Linked DNA regions of Homo sapiens: region 1 is linked to region 2. Evidence: promoter capture Hi-C in 16 types of primary human blood cells and fetal thymus (Javierre and others, 2016). All regions are on one chromosome and are shown on one strand. The core of a region is centred on a gene start or on the middle of the fragment in contact, and the rest is flanking DNA. Distances in the headings are between cores, read along the strand shown.

The links. Contacts are between HindIII fragments. The CHiCAGO score rates a contact against its expected background, and 5 or more counts as called.
Region 1: a fragment that was not itself captured here is called in contact with the fragment with the promoter of GTF2A2 in region 2 in 1 of 17 cell types (naive B cells); the score reaches 5.2 in naive B cells.

What each region holds. Positions count from the first base shown.
Region 1 is chr15:59,234,064-59,240,273 of GRCh38, forward strand. It overlaps MYO1E (myosin IE), which reads right to left. Exons shown (of 28, transcript NM_004998.4): 5 at 2,522-2,609. Among named protein-coding and RNA genes, the nearest start is that of LDHAL6B, 30 kb to the left of the region's middle. The HindIII fragment of the contact is 1,055 bases long and covers 3,235-4,289 here.
Region 2 is chr15:59,653,796-59,660,399 of GRCh38, forward strand. It overlaps GTF2A2 (general transcription factor IIA subunit 2), which reads right to left and starts at 3,720. Exons shown (of 5, transcript NM_004492.3): 1 at 3,611-3,720. It overlaps BNIP2 (BCL2 interacting protein 2), which reads right to left. Exons shown (of 10, transcript NM_004330.4): 10 at 5,351-6,604. RefSeq lists an enhancer at 3,527-3,756. The HindIII fragment of the contact is 4,994 bases long and covers 2,725-6,604 here.

The DNA.
Region 1 (6,210 bases), core at 2,512-5,011, 420 kb before region 2:
ACTGCACAGAGCTGCTCTCCATCTTCCTTTCATTCAGAGAAAGAGGCCACTTTAAGGACCCTTCACTCTGCAACCTTAGTTTGCTCTTTCTCTTTTCCCTGATATGCTCACCACATGCCACAAAATTCTGTTGGACATCACTGATCACTGATGGATGGATGGATGGATGGATGGATGGATGGGTGCATGGATGGATGGGTGCATGGATGGATGGATGCACGGATGGATGGATGGATGGATCCATAAATATTCTCAGTTTTAAAGTCTGTAATTAAAGAAGGGAAGAGATAGAGAAGATTCTGTCCTTTGTTCTCTCCCTGACAGAAGCTGTCGTTAAATGGTATAGGCACGTCTGGCCCGCAAACAAAAGATAGAAAGAGTTGATCCACAAACTCAAAGGAGGAATGTTTGGCTCTACCTTAAGCTTTCTGATCTACCAGTACATGATAGAACACTATTTAATTAATAGAAAGGGGCCAGACATGGTGGCTCATGCCTGTAATCCCAGCTCTTTGGGAGGCCCAGGTGGGTGGATCGCTTCAGCTCAGGAGTTTGAGACCAGCCTGGGCAATGTGGTGAAACCCTGTCCCTACCAAAAACAAACAAAAATTAGCCAGGCATGGTGGCACACACCTGTGGTCCCAGCTACTTGGGAGGTTGAGGTGGAAGGGAATGCATAAGCCCAGGAGCAGGAGGCTACAGTGAGCTGAGATCATGCCACTGCACTTCAGCCTGGGTGACAGAGTGAGACCCCATCTCAAAAAAAAAAAAAAAAAAAAGGGAACCACAATAAAGAGAATTTTATGTGTCTTTTGAAAGTCTACAGCTGACCATGGCAATAACATTACATAATTCTGATTTAAAAAACTAATCTTTGGAAGGAATTCTGTCACCAGCGGTGCATACTGGTGATGAGCGCCAAGCTTGGGCTGCCCCTTATGGACCTTAGCTCGCCATCACCCTCATCCATGGCTCTGGGGAGCAGGCTTTACTCATTCCTGCCAATGCTGATTTTAATTTTCACCTCTTGAGTATCCTCATTCTCTGGATCTTTTCTCTTTCCCAACACTCCTTTACACTCTTTAATCTCTCTTTTTTCCTTCTCTTAAATCCTTTCTCTGTCTACGTCCTTTAAAATTTTTATAAGTTTCTTGAATTGGCAAGTGGTTCACATAGCTCAAACCATGCAAGTTTCTAAAGGGTATACAGGAAGGGTAGGCCCTTCTCCCAACCTCCCAGCTCCCCTCCCTCAAGACAACCATTGTTGACAGTTTCTTGTGTATACTTCGAGGGATATGTGATAACATACCCAAACAAATACAAATGTGCACTCTCTTTTGATCCCTCAAATGGCAGCATATATTACAAACAATGTTCTGAACCTTGTCTTTTGTAATTAATGATACATCTTGGAGACCATTCTCTATCAGTACAATCGGTACATGAAGCCTCATTTTTATTGCTGTATAATATTCTATTATATAAAGAACCACAAATTATTTCACCAGTTGCCTAGTGATGAACACTTAAGTTGTTTCCAGTCTTTTGCATTACCAAAATTGACAGAAATAACTTTATACATGTATTATTTTGTATACATTTCAGCATATCTAAAGAATAAATTCTTTTCAGCAGAACTGCTGAGTCGAATGGCATACATGTGTAAGTTTAACAGATTTTGCTGAAATGTTCTTCATTAAAATGTACTAGTTCATCTCCTACCAGCAATGTATGAGAACAACTGTGTCCCTACTTCCTACCAATCAAGCGTTTAAAACATGGTAAGATTCTGGCCAATCTGATAGGCAAAAAATAGTTTTCTAATGCAGTTTTAATTTGCATTTTTCTTCTTATCATGATGGTGAACATACTTTCATGTTTTGTGAGTAATTTATATTTCCTTTTCTATGAGTTGTCTTTCATGTCCTTTGTTTATTTTCCTTTTGGGCTGCTGATCTTTTTATTGATTTGTAGGAGTTCATTATATATTAGGCACATCTACCTTAAAATATGCTATTCCTTAATCCCAGCACTTTGGGAGGCCGAGGAGGGCAGATCACCTGAGGTCAGGAGTTCGAGACCAGACTGGCCAACATAGTGAAACCCCCGTCTCTACTAAAAATACAAAAATTAGCTGGGCATGGTGGGGCACACCTGTAATCCCAGCTACTCAGGAGGCTGAGGCAGGAGAATCTCTTGAACCCGGGAGGCAGAGGTTGTGGTGAGCCGAGATCGCGCCACTGCACTACTCCAGCCTGGGCAACAGAGCAAGACTCTGTCTCAAAAAAGAAAAAAAAAAAATATATACACACACACACACACACACACACACACACACACACACACACACACACACAAACACACATACATATGCTATTCCTTTCCATTCCAGATTTCAAGTTTCACAGTTATAGAAGAACCAGTGTCTTTTCTGTGGAAGAAAAATTCTTTTCTAACAGCAAATGGAGCCTCTTACATTTCCCATAACATAAGGTATCATAATGGGCCACTGCCCACTCACCTGGACTTTGGTCCCTCCTCCAGACACTCTGGAGATGTAGCTCATGATATATTTGGCAGCCACTGTTTTTCCAGCACCACTTTCACCACTAAAGAAAGACAGACAAAGAATCCACCTGAGAAGTGGATTGCGACCAGCTCCCTTCCTTGTCTCCCCCATCACACAAAACAAACAAACAAACAAAAAAACAAAAAAAACAGGCAGAAAAGAATTTTTTTTTTTAAGTACAATACCAGTAGAGAAAGGCAAGTTACAGCAGGATTAGGTCGCCCATGTGACCCGTGTGAGCCGGATTAACATGGTGTGGATAATTACCACTGTGCACACCACTGACCATTAAGCATTTTACATGCCCAATAATGGGGGATATGATTAGGAAAATTATGGAGTATCACAAGGGTGGAATTCTACATAAATTACAACTGACATGAAGACTGTAAACACAGGAAACAAGCAAATGAAATCATGTTAAGTGAAATAAGTCATTCAAGTTATATACAAAACATGATTACAATTTTTTTTTCTTAAAAAAAAGACTGGAACTACCACAAAATATTAACAAAGGCTTTGGTCAAGCCAGAGACTAGAGAAACTTGTTTTAATTCATTAGTTTTCAAACATTTTATAATGCATATGCTATTTTTGTAATTTAAAAAAAGAAAAGAAAAAGTGGGCACTCTGAGGTTTCAAACCATGTGCCTTGAATTGATGCAAGCTTCCTTATTTTAGAAGTTCTAAAATTAAACCTTGAAGCAATATTAATCACATCCGGAGTAACAAAGGCCACCTTCCGCTGGGTAGCCTTCCTGCATGGGGAGAGCCTTTTGTTAATAATATATAGTCTGCTCTTCAAAATCCCCATTCTTCCTACAAAATCCCCCTGAATTGATAATGACCTCAATTCAAAACATGCTTAAGTCAGTCAGATTTTTCATCTTTCTATTGGTACCCTTTGTGTTACCAGGATAGAATTAAAGAACCCCATATCATATAAAATGATGGTGGGAGTTAGTATGAAAAATGCAGACTGCTACAAGTTCATAGGACAATATTTTTGTTCGCGCTTCGCGATAAAAAATTTTAGGGCGCAGAGCAAATGTTCTTCTATGAATATCCAGCCCAAATTAATTGTTATCGATTGCTGAGTTACTCAAGGAAAGAGAAAACATTTGCTTGGGGAACAACCAAGCAAGGTGACACTCCTATTCCCAAAAGGAAACTGAAATTTGAAATAATTTTACATTTCAAAACAAAACAAAAGAAACAAATGAACAGAGAATTGAGCTGGCCATATAGCGAAACTCAGAACTTTGCTGAATTTCCTTGAACTAATAATACGGTTTTAAAGAAATTATGGGGAGGCGGGAACCATCCTCTGTTCAGAGCTCATGACCTGCAAAAGTCTGAACCCACCTATGCAAGTCACTCACCATCCTAGTGCTATGCTCCTGGCTTCCTGGTCACATGAATAAGAAAACCAAACTGAAATTTCGTAAGCTACAGTAGCAAGTAGAAAACCAGCAAGCCTGGGACGAGGTGTCACACTCTTCCAGAGGACATGCTTACTCACAGGCAGCAACTAGGTCGGGCAAATTCAACTCCATGGGGAAATTATCTTTTCAAATGGTTGACATACTCAGATGATGTATTTACTAGATCCAGGGTCAACACACACACTCTCTCATTGGAATTACACGGTTTGGCAACAATGAAACTCCATTTTAGAAGTTGTAAACAATGTAAACATTCAAGAATATTGGAAAGTCCAAGCTTACAATGGCACAACCACCCAATATAATACTGCACAGGCATTTGAAGTACTTACAAAGAGTATGTAGCAACATAAAGATAATGCAGCCTAAGTTAAGTGGTAATGTGAATAGAAGATACTATATTTATAACAAGTTTACAACTATGTGAAAATAATGTATGGGCAAAAACAAATTGACAAGGAAAAAGAAATATTCCTTACTTGTTAGGAGGCTGGTATAGGAATGGTTTTTTTGAAATGGAGTCTCACTTTGTCACCCAGGCTGGAGTGCAGTGGCACAATCTTGGCTCACTGCAATCTCTACCTCCTAGGTTCAAATGATTCTCCTGCCTCAGCCTCCCAAGTATCTGGGATTACAGGTGTGCACCACCATGCCTAGCTAATTTTTTAATTTTTAGTAGAGACGGGGTTTCACCATGTTAGCCAGACTGGTCCCAACTCCTGACCCCAGGTGATCCGCCTGCCTTGGCCTCCCAAAGTGCTGGGATTACAGGTGTGAGCCACGACACCTGGCTCTTTTTCCTTTTCATGTGCTTTCTCATAATTTTCTATTTTTTTTAGATTTTTATGCCGGGTACAATGGCTCGTGCCTGTAATCCTAGCACTTTGGGAGGCCAAGGTGGACGGATCATTTGAGGTCAGGAGTTCGAGACCAGCCTGGCCAACATGGTGAATCCCCGTCTCTACTAAAAATACAAAAACTAGCTGGGCGTGATGGCAGGTGCCTGTAATCCCAGCTACTCAGGAGGCTGAGGCAGGAGAATCTCTTGAACCCGGGAGGCAGAGGTTGCATTGAGCCAAGATTGTGCCACTGCACTCCATCCTGGGCAACAAGAATGAAACTGTGTCAAAAAATATATATATATATATTTTTTTTATTTTTTAAAATTTGTGTATTTCAGATTTTTTAAAACAGCTTTTCCAGAGAAAAGGGAGGGATCACACCTCACAATAATCACCACTGATCAATTTCATTACATTATTATTATTCAACTTCCTACATATCACCATAAGTATGTATATTTTCCTTAAGTTTACACTGTCACATTTAAACTTTACTAGAACAAGCTGGGAAAGAGAGAGAGAGCAAGCGTGAGCAAACCCTATAAGAATTATAAAATAATATATATAAAGGGGAATTTATTAAATTTAAAAAAGAATTATAAAAGGACAGTAATCCCAGTAATCCTCCCACTGTGTCTTTGGTTAATACTGTATTCAGACATGAAATATTTTGTCTCTTTTGTTGGAAACAAAAGCAAGTAATAATAATGGAAAGTAGCTCTTTTAATATATCAAAATAAGTATACCAGTTCCAAAAATAGGATATCTGCATTCTCAGCAACTATGATCTTTTCCAGCAGACTTAAAATAATTAGTTCTCACTAAACATTGATCGGAATTTTCATTACTTGGTTTCAATTTACAGACACTTAAGAAGAATTTTTATTGATCAGAGGCTGGTGAGTTGGTCAAAATATGGTACAATAATGGAATGTTACAGAATGACTTGAAACCTACAGTATATGCAACCATAATTATGCTGGCCTGTTTGGGATGAGAACATATTGTTTCTTCTCCGGCACTAAAACCCAAGTTAAAAGAAAGTGAAGGTCTTAGACAAAATAATATATCCCAAATTATTTACTTTGCATCTCACAGCAGTTATTGTACAGCAATTTGCTTTGTTTACGCTTCCAGGCAGCCCGTCCTAATTTAATTGACTTATAAAATGGACACACACACACAAATACTCTAGAAATTAGGAAAATATCCCAGTGGTTCCCAAATCTGGCAGTCTATCAGAATCGTCAGAGTACTTTTTAATTGCCCATGTCTGGGCCCGTCTTCTGACCTGCTGGATCCCAGTCTCCAGGGACAGAGTCTAGGAATAGGAATTTCTAACAAACTCCCTAGT
Region 2 (6,604 bases), core at 2,470-4,969:
CTGATGCTACTCTTGCAAATATGCTCTGTCCTCAGTCTTACCCACCTCGGTAACAGTAAACATAGTCTTCCTGTAACAGCTCAAAAACCTGAGTCAAGAGTAACTTCTCTTTTTCTTACCTGGCATCCAATCCATCAGCCAACCTTTCAGCTCGTCCTTCTAACTATAGCCAGAATCTGACAGCTTCTACCATCTTCAATGCTATTACCCTAAGTCACCATCATCTGTCACTAAAGTTAATGTGATAACTCATGGTCTCCTTATTTCCAGTCTTGCCTATCCCAACCCCACCCTCATAGTAGCCACACTAAGACTTTAAAACATAAGGCAAATCACATCACTGGTCTATTCAAAACCACCAATGGCAGCATCCCATCTCAGTGAAAACCACAGAGTCCATGGCTTGGAAGGCCTATGTGATTTGGGCCCCCCAGTGCCTACTTCCCTATCTTCGCCCACTCACCCTCTCACTCTGCTCTGGTCATACTGGTCCCCTGCTGTTCTTTGACAGGGGAAGCATGATCCTGCTTGAGGGCCTTTGTGGTGGCTCTTCTTTTTGCTGACAGTATTCTTTCCAAATACCTGCATAGTTCACTCTCTCATTTGATTCAGATCTCTGGGTCAAGCATTACTCCATCAGAAAGGCCTTCTATAATCAACCTATAAGAAAGAATTACCTTCCTTCTTCCTCACACTGCTTTATTTTCATTCATACCAATAACTGAAGCTAACATATATATGCTTATTCTGTCTCCATCTACTAAAATAGATGACACACTGAAGACAGGGACTTCTGTTCATTTACATATTTACCAACTAGAACAACGTATGTAGTATCTATTAAGTATCTGTTGAGTGAAATACTTGGTAGTATGTTAAAGTGCTAATATATTAGAAATGTATCTGAGTATGACACAAAGTATTACACTTCACTGAGGAAACTGCAGCAATAACTTCCAGACTCACAGCCACATCCAGCTACCTACCAATAGCTATACAGGTTGAACATTCCTTATCTGAAATGCTTGGGACCTGAAGTCTTTTGGATTTTAGAATATCTGCATCGTATATACTTAGTGATTGAGTACCCCAAATTCAAGCTCTGAAATGCTCCAAAGAGCATTTCCTTTCAGTGTCATGTTGGTGCTCAAAGTTTTGGATTTTGGAGCATTTTGAATTTGGGATGCCCAACCTGTACCCATATACTCTCCCTCCCTGTCACTATAGTTGAACTCTATACCTATTTTTATCTAAATCCAATCCTTCTACCTTTGTATCAGGCATTGTCTTCTAATTCACTCAAGGATATTGTTCTGACAATTCAGTTGTTACTTCTCTCCCTCACCATCAAATTTTCCCTCTCTGCGGATCATTTCCATTAGCAAACACATAGGTGGCTACTTCTCCCACCTTAAAAAGTAAAACAAAACAAAAACCCCTCAACCCAAATCCCCTGCCAGCTACATCCTATTTCTCAGTTCCCCTTTGCAGCAAAATCCCTTAGTTTTGTCTGTATTCACTGTCTCCCAATTCCTTTTTTCCTATTTTCTCTTAAGCTAATTTTTGCCTCTAGCACTCTAAGGAAACAGGTTGGTGAAGGTCATCAATGGCAATGCTAAAGCTAATTCTCTAGCCTCACTCAGAATATTGGACACAGCTGATTACTCCCTCCTCTTTCGTACAGGATCTTACCTTGGCTTCTGGGACACTGCCCTTTTCGGATTGTCCTAACTCACAAGTTCATCCTTCTTAATACTGTTTGCTGGTTGATCCCGTTTTCGCTAAACTCTTAATATCACAGGACACAGTCCTTAGGCCTCTGCTGCTTTCCGTCTACACCCATTCCTTACGGATAACATTTATTCTCATGGTTTAAGTACCACTGCTGATGATCCCCAAATTCATATAGCATAGAACTTCTCACTCCTGAATCTAGCTGCCTACTCAACATCTCTATTTGTTATCTTTTGCATCGTGGCTTAAAGAACTCCATACTTCTACGAGCTTGGGCAAAACCTTTGATTTCATCCTCCACTCCCTCTATCTCACTCTCCATATCCAATTCCTAGCAAATACTGTAAGGCCTACCTTCAAAATGCATTCAGAATCCAACCACTTCTCACCATCCCTACGGTTATCACCCTGACCTGGGCCACTCTCGTCATCTGGATTACTGCAAAAATCTCCTAAATGATTTCCCTGCTTCTACACTCACCCCTACACTCTAATCACAACTCACAGCCAGGGTGATCTTCTAAAACTTCAGTTACAACATACCTCTCCTCTATTCAAAATCTCCCATGGCTTCTATCAGCCTTTACAATGATCCGGCTACCATGATCTCTTTGACTTTATCTTCTTGTCCCTCCACCCCCAAAACTCTTGCTCATCCCTCTCCAGATACACTGGCTTCCTTGCTATTCCTCAAACATGACAGGCCTAAAAGCATTTGTATTGGCTTTCCTATCTGCCTGAATGCTCTTCCTGATATTTACTTAGCAAATTTTCTTAATTCCTTCAAGTCTTTGCTCAAATAACACCTACTAAATGAGGCTCAAACTGACCACCGTCATCTTTAAAATACCAGTTCCCACCTCCACTCTGGAACTTTCCCGTACTCCTTTATATTTCTCTTTTTTTTTTTGATGGCACCATCACTTTCTAACACCATTATATATTTTATTTTCTGCATCCTCTAATAGAATGTAAGCTCCATGAGGGCAAAGCTTTTTATTTTGTTCACTTAAGTAAAATAGGCGTCTAGAACAGTACCTGGCACACAATAGGAGCCAAAAAAAAATCTGTTCAGTAAACGAAGGCAAATATCAGTAAGTATAATATGCGTGTGGGAGGGGAGAGGGGGTTAAAAAGGGCAAGAAGTCCCAATAGGTAGATAAAAACTCCACAGAGTAGGAATACAGAATCGTGCATCGTGTCCCATTTGACAAATTTTTGAGTTTATCTAGAAAATAGCCCTGCGTTAAACGTTTGTTAAAAGTGCTGATTTCAATGTTCTTACATTCTTTAAAAATTCCTTGTTAAGTGTTCTAATCTTTTAGATGTGGTATCAGCCACAGAAATTTATTGTTCCCTTCTTGTTTTGCAGTTCAGAAAATTAGAAGTCAAATTCGGAAGTAACTCGTCCTAGCATTTTTTGATTAAACCACCAAGTTTAAAATTCGTTCCTTTTGTCGGAGTTCGCACGAAGAAAGTTGGAAGGCAGACTTCAAACAACAAGCTACAAAGCACAGGAATGAGACATTTAAAAAATGCTCTCCGAAATTCGGCAAAACTCACAGGGCGCTAGTGGATGCTTTAAGACATTCACCTGGCTGAAAATACGGTGGTGGGCTGAAGACCTCCCCTAGGTGGGTTCTGTGGGCGCCCCGTGAACGACGAGCCTCCCGCCACGGGACGCGACCATCACCGCCGCCTCGCCGCCCTTCTCCGGTGCCGGCCGCGGGGCCTTGCCGGCAACGGTCGGTAACGGGCAGATCCCAGGAGCGAAGGGCCCTCAGAGACTACCCCACCAACGCACTCCGACTCCGGGGGGGCGGCAGGGAGCGCGGCCCTGCTTCCCTCCCTAACCCTGCCCTCCCTAACCCACTACCTGTGGGGAAGGCGCTTCCCTCCGCGGAGCGGACAGAAGCCGCCACGAGCCCGGCAGGAGGTTCCTACTTCTCCGACCACCTCTCCAGCCGCCGCAGAAACCGCAGAACTGAGCTGACGACCCGGAAGTGCTCGCGGAACCTGGAAGTGACACCCCGCCCGAGGGACGGGAGGCCCCGCCCAGCCCTGCTCTCGCCCGCCACTCAAGCCTTGTCAGGGAAGGGCGTGGAGAGGGAAGGAGGGGCGTCGGGCTGGAGCTTGAAGCCTTAAAGTGGTGGACAGGCGCTCTGCTCGAGTAATTCACCAGGTTTACTAAATCGTTCCTAAGGGAATTATAATTTTTAGAGACTAATCTTCTCCATTGTTAGATGCACAATTTAAGAAATGTAGGGCATTCATATTTCATGCCGGAAGTGTGTTCAGGGTAACAGTGTTGAAGACCTTGCAGACGAATTCTGAAAAGATTATAGCAGGGGCCGGGCGCGGTGGCGCACGCCTTAATCCCAGCACTTTGGGAGGCTGAGGCGGGTCGATCACCGGAGGTCAGGAGTTCGCGACCAGCATAATATGGTGAAATCCTGTCTCTACTAAATACAAAAAATTAGGCAGGCGTGGTGGCGCATGCCTGTAATTCGAGCTACTTGGGAGGCTGAGACAGGAGAATGGCTTGTACCTGGGAGGCGGAGGTTGCAGTCAGCTGAGATCGCGCCATTGCACTCCAGCCTGGGAAACAAGAGCGAAACTCCGTCTCAAAAAAAAAAAAAAAAAAAAAAATTATAGCAGGGTAAGCAGGGTATCTTCTTTACCCCTCGAAACAGGGCTGCAGGCAAAGTTTTTAGTTTGTGACCAGTTCATGAAGAACTTTAATTTGGGAGAAGTTATATTTAAAATTTGCATCTAATATGCAAGATAAATACTTCACTATAAATTTCAAGTTTGCAAAATCACAAATTGTTTTAGGTGTCAGGGTGCATGGTACACTAACTGGCTTAAACCCAGCAGTCATGTGTAGAGCAGTTTATCCTACAAAATAGCTGAATAGTGATTAAAGAGTATGTGCAAAACAACAACAACAAAACCACAAAAAACACCAAGTGGTATCAGCTGGAACCTCTGAGCAGGTCTATGAACTAAACAAGTTCTTCTTATTTAAGCCATGTTTTCGGCCAGGGGCGGTGGCTCATGCCTGTAATCCCAGCACTTTGGGAGGCCGAGGTGAGCGAATCACCTGAGGTCAGGAATTCGAGACCAGCCTCAACGTGGAGAAACCCCGTCTCTACTAAAATACAAAAAAAATTTCGCTGGGCGTGTTGGTGCATGCCTGTAATCCCAGCTACTCGGGAGGCGGAGGCAGGAGAATTGCTTGAACCTGGGAGGCGGAGGTTGCGGTGAGCCAAGATGGCGCCATTGCACTCCAGCCTGGGCAACAAGAGCGAAACTGTCTCAAAAAAAAAAAAAAAAAAAAAAAGCCATGTTTTCATTTTAAGCCACTCATGGTTTCATCCTTGGATTCCCCATTAATTAAAAAAAAATCTCAACTATGAAACACAAAGTTTCATTATTGTTTTGATGTTAAAATAAAGCAGGCTGAACTCTCTAATCCCCAAAGAATAGAAGCACTTAGACTATAGAAAGGGAAACAAGTGTAAAGGTCTGAAATTATTTAAGAGGTTTATAGGATAATTCAAAGCAAAAATTTAGTAGCATAATGAAAGAAAAATGTGATAAAAAGACAAAGACGAACGTTCCAATTAATTTATTTAAATTCATTAATGTTGCAAAAAATATGATGTGCAACAAATCAAGACACAAGTTATATTCCTAACAGGTCAAAGAAAATATTACATCTCCTTAGTAAATCATGACCAACTCTGGTATTTCTTACAGGGACCACATTAATATCTTGCACACACAGACATCAGAACTGAATTTCTGACAGTACTCGGCTGGGCAACATCATCTTAAGAGTAGGAAAATATCACAGTACATTAATTTTGTCTAAATGACAGCAATGAACCTGTGGTAACAAAAGTATTTTTGGAATAGATATCAAAGTGTGTTAATGTCTTAACAAACTCTGAATTGTGTTCTGTGTGAATAGTGCTCCAAGGGCTGTGCAAGTCAGTGGCCCTGAACATCATCAATATTTACTAGCTAGGTTTACACAAATAAACAAGCAACTGTTAAACGGACATTAAACTTTACAAAGTCCACATACAAAAAGTGCAGTGTAGAAGCTGATGAATGTTATTTTCCAAGTTCCTCCTTAGCCAAACTGCATAAAAATTTCAAAATGCAAATATTTTAACTTCTTGTTAAACATGATTCTAAGACATCCTACAAGCCTAGTATCATTAATTTGAAAGCACGAAATGATTTTCATTTGGTGCTTACGTGCTTTATGTGAATTTTTCATAGCATTTTACTTAGTTCTCAAAACATAAATAGGTCTATTATAAATAGTTGCAACATACTGTTATATTCAAATTTTAGTGTCACTCCTTACTGTTAAACATGCCAGACTACTTTATTTTCAATTATCCTTTAGAACTTCAAAGGAAAGTTACATAACTGGGTCTCACCATTGATCTGATTCTAAGTTCATTCAGAATTTCAAGAAGGGCAGAGGGGGATGCTTGCCAGGTAATTCTTTTGTATTAGCTTAGAACATTTGAGTAGATAATACCCCACTTCCCTCACCAGTTGGCCTTCCCATTCAAGTCTAAGTTCTTGACTCTTTCTCGCAGCAACTCAAACTACACAATTCCTATGACCTATAACAAGACCAGACCTATTTTAACAGCAAAATAGGTCTAACTTGTGAGTACATACATTAATGCCTCTTTTTACTCTATCCCTCTCAGATTTGTGGTCCATTTCTCAAATGTCCATATAGGATTGGAGAAAAAACAGGCATGAAAACAAAATAGAATGGTGTAGCAATCTCTATTTTCAGCCTATCTCCTACTCCCATTTGCTTGAGCAAGTTTAACAC